2 separate regions of the Homo sapiens genome follow, and region 2 is linked to region 1. Evidence: promoter capture Hi-C in 16 types of primary human blood cells and fetal thymus (Javierre and others, 2016). All regions are on one chromosome and are shown on one strand. The core of a region is centred on a gene start or on the middle of the fragment in contact, and the rest is flanking DNA. Distances in the headings are between cores, read along the strand shown. Region 1 holds the start of LAMA3 (laminin subunit alpha 3). Region 2 overlaps LAMA3 (laminin subunit alpha 3).

Region 1 (3,568 bases), core at 174-2,673:
GGCATGAGCCACCGTGCCCGGCCCAATTTATATTTTTCTTTTGTTGCTTGCGCTTTTGATATCATAGCTAAGACAGCATTGCTAATCCAAAGTCATGAAGATTTTCTCCTGTGTTTTTCCCTTAGAATTTTATAGTTTTAGCTTTATAGTTTAGCTCTCTAAATGTAAAATTTAGAGATCTTAAATCCATTTTGAGTTAATTTTTGCATATAGTATGAGGTGGGGATCCTACTAGATTATTTTGGGATGTCCAGTTTTCCCAGCAGCGTTTATTAAAAATATTATTCTTTTCCCATTGAATAGTCTTGGCACCCTGTTGAAAATCCAGTGACCATAAATGTAACGGTTTATTTCTGAGCTCTCAATTCTATTCCATTGATCTATGTTTATCGTTATGTCGGTACTACACTGTCTTGATTACTGTAGTTTTGTATTAAGTTTTAAAACTAGGAAGCGTGAGTCCACTGACTTCATTCTTTCTCAGAATCGTTTTGGATTTTCTAGGTCTCTTGCATTTCCACATGAATTTTAGGATCAGCTTGTCAATTTCTGAAAAAAAAAAAAGTCGGGATTTTGATCCCTATCAAAATCCATTGTGTTGAATTGTAGGTTGCTTTAGGAAATATTGCCATCTTCACAATATTGTCTCCTAATCCATGAACATGGGAGGCTTTTCCACTCATTTAGGTCTTTTAACATTTCTTTCAAAGAGGTTTTGCAATTTTTATTGTACAAATATTGCATTCCTCTAATTTCTTCGAGGGCCTATGTGGGTTCTGTTTTAGTAGGGTGTTCTGCATATAAGACCAAGCATCAGTCCGGGGTCGTGGGGGGAGGGGGTCTTCTCTGTTCTGAGGCCATCATGGCAGGTGGCGTACCTCACTCAATCTCTGTTAGCTTATTTGTAAAATTGAGCAGATTAGGCATCTAAAGGATTTCCTCTAAGGTTCCTTTCCAGGTTGGCAAATTACAACTTGCATTATTGGCTGTCTTTTAAATATGTACGTTCCACCACTCCCAGTTCCCTGGCTCAGCCTGTGGCTGCAGTGCCACAGGGATCCTAGGTGCACAGTGTTGAGGAGTTGACGACTCAACACTTGGCTGGGAAATCGAAATGTCTTTGATGTGAGTTCTGTAGGTAGTGGCAGTTTCCTCTGCTCTCAACCAAATTCGTTTACAAGCCTCCTTTACTCTTAGGTCACAGGTGGCTTTTCTGGCTTTGACCTGAGCGGTGAGTATCCAGAGAGGAGAACGATCTAATTAATTTCTGTCCTGGCGCCTGGAGGGTTCGAAGATCCCAGGCTCCCGTTCCCGCCGCCTGGGTGGGAGCCCGGGAACGCCTCTCCCATTCCCCGCCCGCGAAGTTTGCAGCGCGCCTCGCGCGGGAGAGACGCCGTCTGCTGGCGCGCGGCTGAGCGCTGTCAGTTCCTGATCCGGCTGGTGCCCGCTCCAGCCGCGGCAGGTTCCAGAGCTGAGAGGCCACCCCCACGCCGCGGGCTTCCAGCGCGTGGAGCAAGGGGAGCGGCCCCGGCGCCGCCCATATCCCCGGCTGCGCTAGTCCTGGCGCTGCAGGTCCGGGAGGCGCAGGCGGAGAGCGGCGGTGCCCCCGAGCCCCTCTGCGGACGGCTCAGGCGGGAGGACCCCGCGCGGCTGGATGGCGGCGGCCGCGCGGCCTCGGGGTCGGGCACTGGGGCCAGTACTGCCGCCGACGCCGCTGCTCCTGCTGGTACTGCGGGTGCTGCCAGCCTGCGGGGCGACCGCTCGGGATCCCGGGGCCGCGGCCGGGCTCAGCCTTCACCCGACTTACTTCAACCTGGCCGAGGCGGCGAGGATTTGGGCCACCGCCACCTGCGGGGAGAGGGGACCCGGCGAGGGGAGGCCCCAGCCCGAGCTCTACTGCAAGTTGGTCGGGGGCCCCACCGCCCCAGGCAGCGGCCACACCATCCAGGTGAGGGCCTCGGAGAGAGCCGGGGTGGGCGCGCCTTTTCCTTCCCGCGCCGGCCAGACACCCGGAGAAGGGATCGGGCCCTTTCCTCACGCGCGCTAGTGGCTCCGGGCGACTGGGAAGGGCAGCCCCCATCCCCGCGCGCGAGGGCCCACGACCCAGGAGCGATCTCGTGGAAGCACCGCACCGGCACCACCGGCCCGAGGCGAGGAGGGGGAGCACGCGAGGTGACATGAGGCTGTGGTCAGGTTCGGGCTGGTGGAGGGGAAAGTGTGAGGCTGCGCTCTAAGAGATGCAGGCGCCTCGGCCCTTCCCGCCTCCGTCACCCACGGAGCGTCCCGCCAGGCTTGAGTCCTCGAGGGTTCAGGGGCGCCTCCTGCCCCACCTCCCGGGCCTTATTCGGAGAAGTCGGTGGCAATTACCTTCTGTGGTGTATTTTAAGAGAGAATTTTTAGGTTATAACAGCGGTATCACTCTAATGTTACTGAAAAGATTCACTTCACTGCACTGCCTGAAGTGCCACCATCCAGTCATTGGGGGCGAATGAGACCTTAGGCGGACAGAGATAGAAAGGCTCTCAGAGATCCGAGCCTCACCGCGAACACCCGGGGCAAACGACATTGCGGTGCATGTTAAGCAGCATCTTGCAGTGCCTGGCCCTTACTCACAGGTCTCAGCCAGGCAAGAGTGCAGTGGTGCGATCACGGCTCACGGCAGCCTCGAACTCCTGGGCTCAAGGGATCCTCCCGCCTCAGCCTTGGGCGTAGCTGGGACTACAGGCGTGCCCCCCCGTGCCTGGCAATTTTTTTTTTTTTTTTTTGAGACAGAGTCTCGCACTGTCGCCGGGGCTGAAATGCAATGGTGCGATCTCGGCTCACTGCAACCTCAGGCCTGGCAATTATTTATTTATTTATTTATTTATTTATTTATTTATTTATTTATTTATTTTTCTGTAGAGACAGAGTCTGGCTATTTTGCCCAAGCTGGTCTCAAACTCTTAGCCTCAAGCTGTCCTTCTGTCTTGACCTCCCAAAGGGGCAGGAGAATTTGAATCCAGTCCTGACTTCAAATCCTGGACACTAAGCCCAAATTGCCTCCTTCTTCTGCAAAGTATTGTTGAGGAACAGGAAGTGGGAAGAGGGAGCGATTTTGGAGCTTGGGTTCTAAAAGAGCAAGGTTATCATTGGGTGTCTAGATTAGTGTTTTAGAAACTCTTTTGACCATGCACTTCCATAAATGACAAGTTGTTGAACATCTAGTGCCATATGTGCTTATTTACTTATAAACTACATGCATGTATTATATTGATATGTGTTGTGCATATTTTAAAACATGCAAAAACAGAAATCTAAAAGACAAAATAACAATGATGAAAATATTTTTACCATATTTATATATTATCTATATTATAAAACATGCAAGAAAAGAAACTAAAAATATAAAATAACAATGATGAAAATACTTTTAACAGTCCTCAAATAATTTTGCTTTCTCTATTTTATGATTGTGTGTTTATAAACACACAAATATGCAAATATAATTGTGTGTATAATTATTTTTGAGAAATTTAGTTTAGCTCTTATAACAATTCAGTTTTTAATTTAATTTTATTTTTGAGACAGG
Region 2 (3,476 bases), core at 241-2,740, 110 kb after region 1:
CAGCATTTGCTATTTTTGGTCTTTTTGATGATAGCCATTCTAACGGAGATGATATCTCATTGTGGGTTTGATTTTCATTTCCCTGATGATTAGTGATGTTGAACATTTTTTCGTATACTTGTTGGCCTTTTGTATGTCTTCTTTTTAGAAATGTCTATTTATATCCTTTGCCCACTTTTAAATCACATTATTTGATTTTTTGCTGTTCAGTTGGAAAACAAAGATTTTTGTTTTACATACATATAACATACGCATATACAGAAAAAACATATTCATAACAAAATAGGAAGAAATACTCACTACAATTACAAATACTAATTTCTGTAACAGGTCACATGGTCATAGCTGGTATAAGTTGAGCATCCCAAATACAAAAATCCAAAATGCTCCCGCATCCAGAACTTTTTGAGTGCTGACACGATGCTCAAAACAAATACTCATTGGAAAATTTTGGATTTTGAATATTCAAATTTGAGATGCCCAATCAGGTATAATGCAAATATTCCAAAATCTGAAAAAATAAAAAATCTAAAACATGTTTGGTCCCAGCATTTCGGATAAGGGATACTCAAACTGTATTTGTAACTACCTTCTTCTGCCACCCATTCCATATTCCCTTTGCCCTCAGCAAGCACCTCATGGTTCTTTACCTGGTGAAGTGACACAAATCTTCATTCTTGAAGGGTCTAGGACATCAGTAGTCTTGCCTGAATTGGGTTGTAGTTTTCCATTGACTTTAATCACAAGACATGGTAATACTAAGAGACACCTTAAGTCATCTCCTGTATTCTAGACATATTCTTCCTTACCTCCATTTTTGAAGAACAGTTCATTTTCCCCTTGGTAATTAGTGGAACACAATTGCTTCTATCTTCATCTGTTGATTCAGAGGAATGAGGAAACCATGTAGCAGTCTTAACTTCCAGTTCAATAGAATGATCGTCACGTCTCCTGGTAGAAGCATTTCTTCCTCTGGAACTAAGACCTCTCGACCACCAGAGCAGAAGGCAGCTGGGATTGGAAGCTAGTTGATTACTAGGGTTTATAGTGAGTGATGCCACTCCCATTTCTACCTCTTGATTCCTGAACTCGTGAATCTTGGCTATCAGAGAAACCATATGTTGTACAATGATTCAGAGCAGATACTGCTTTCTGGAGAAACTTGCCTCAGCCCCGCAAGGTACTGCCACCTAGTAGTTTTCACCTACAGTGAAAACTCACTGTAACTGAGTTTTCAAAAGGCCATTCCACTGTTGTATTAAGCCACCTGTTCAGGATGGTGGGGAAAGTGGTGAGATTAGTGAATTCCATGACCATGGGCTCACTGCTGCATTCCATTTGTTGTGAAGCGAGTTCTTTGATCAGAAGCAATACTATGTGGATACTATGACAGTAAATAAAGCATTCTGTAAGTCTACAAATGTAGTTTTGACAGAAGCATTGCATGCAGAGAAGGAATTTCTGTATCCAAGTAAGTGTCCATTCCAATAAGAACAAAACACTTCCCCTTCCATGATAGGACAGTTCAAAGTAATTAACCTGCCACCAGGTAGCCAGCTGATTACCCTGGAGAATGGTGCCATATTGAGGACTTGGTATTGGTCTCTGCTGCTCGCAGACTGGGAACTCAGCTGTGGTGAGTGGAAGTACATTTTGCTGAGCCCAGGGATAAACTCCATCCCTGCCCCCATGGCTACTTTGTTATGAGCCCACTGGACAATGATAGAAGTGGATGGGACAGAGGCTGCCGGGTATCCACAGAACAGATCCTCCTGTCTACTTGGGAAGCATTCACCTAGGACATGTTTCTTAGCCATTTAGAGAGGGTTTTCACTCAGACCCTTCCCCAGATCTTCCTGTCACCAATTTTCCAATCATGTTCCTTCAAAGTCCCTGGCCATCCAGTCAAAGAATTGGCCACAGCCCATTAATCAATATGTAATTTCACATCTGGCCATTTCTCCTTCCAAGCAAAGTGAACAACCAGCACACTGCTCAAAGTTCTCCCTACTGGGAGGATTTCCCTTCACCACTGTCCTTCAGGATGTCCCAGAAAGGCACAAATGTGCTGCAGCTGTCCACTTTCAGGTGATGCCTCCATATCTTGCAATACCTGGTCTAAAACAGGCCTAAGTTTTCTCTTTCTTTGTTAACTGATCACAAGGAACTCACCATAATGCTGTAGATGTGGAATGTAGCAGGAGTGTGGAGTGTGGCGTTCTTTGCATAGCTTACTTGTGTAGAGGCTGCTTGGATCCAATCTTATGTATACCACTTCCATTTGATGACGGAATGCTGCTGTGCTTGCCCAACTTATGGCTTCGTGGGTCAGATAACACCCAGTTCATAATGGTCAGCTCACATCACATAGTGACTTCATGGCCCATGGTTAAGCCTTCTGTCTCTACTAAGACCCAGTAGAAAGTGAAAAGCTGTTTCTCAAAAAAAAGTTATCTGCAGAGGATGGCTTATATGTAGACGGTGGCAGGACTTTGCTCCAAAATCCTAAGGGTCTGCACTGTCGTTCACTTATGTGGGCCTGCTGAAGGCTCCAAAAAGCATCCCTATCTGCCACTGACACTTAAAAGCACCATTAGATCTGCTCAGTCATATGCTTTAAGTGGCAGAACAGCTTACACAGCAGCCTGGACCTGCTGCAGAGCCTTCCCTTGTTCTGGGACTCACACTACTGGACCCTTAGAAATTTAACTGAGGTAGAAGACTCTGGATGTTTTATTGCATTTAATTTTTACCTCCTGACACCCAAATGTCTTACCAATAAGTCTAGAGTAGTTGCTACTTCTTGTTCACTAGCTCCAATTAGCATAATGTCCTCAATGTAATAGACCGATGTGATGCCTTATGGAAGGGAAAGGTGATCAAGATCCCTGTGACCTAAATTATGACACAGGACCAGAGTTGATAGACCCCTGATGTAGGACAGTGATATAGTTTGGATGTTTGCCCCCTCCAAACCTCGTGTTGAAATCTGATCCCCAATGTTGTAGGTGGGGCCTGGTGGGAGGTGTTTGGATCATGGAGATGGATCCTTCATGAATGGCTTAGTATTGTCCTCCTGATAGTGGGTGAGATCTCTCTCTGAGTTCACTTGAGATCTGGTTGTTTAAAAGTGTGTGATACCTCCCCCTACCTTGCTTCTGTTCTTGCTATGTGATGTACTGGCTCCCCTTTACCTTCTGCCATGGGTTGTAAGTTCCCTGAGACCCTCACCAGAAGCAGATGCTGGCACCATGCTTCCTGTACAGCTTGCAAAACTATGCCAATTAAATTTCTTTTCTTCATAAATTACCTAGCCCCAGGTATTTCTTTATAGCAACATAAAAATAGCCTAATACAGACAGTGAAAGTATATTGCTGGCCTGGCCAGTTGAAAACAAACTGCTTGTTGGTTTTTACTAAAGGTGTGAAGGAAAAAAGCATTTGCCAGACTAACAGCTGCATTCCAGGTGTCAGGT

The links. Contacts are between HindIII fragments. The CHiCAGO score rates a contact against its expected background, and 5 or more counts as called.
Region 2: a contact is called between a fragment that was not itself captured here and the fragment with the promoter of LAMA3 in region 1, in 1 of 17 cell types (M1 macrophages). The highest score is 5.3, in M1 macrophages.

What each region holds. Positions count from the first base shown.
Region 1 is chr18:23,688,030-23,691,597 of GRCh38, forward strand. LAMA3 (laminin subunit alpha 3) reads left to right here and starts at 1,424. Exons shown (of 75, transcript NM_198129.4): 1 at 1,424-1,948. The coding sequence starts at 1,655. RefSeq lists an enhancer at 783-1,332. The HindIII fragment of the contact is 9,125 bases long and covers 1-3,568 here.
Region 2 is chr18:23,801,699-23,805,174 of GRCh38, forward strand. All of the region lies in intron 12 of LAMA3 (laminin subunit alpha 3), which reads left to right. Among named protein-coding and RNA genes, the nearest start is that of LAMA3, 110 kb to the left of the region's middle. The HindIII fragment of the contact is 4,878 bases long and covers 1-3,476 here.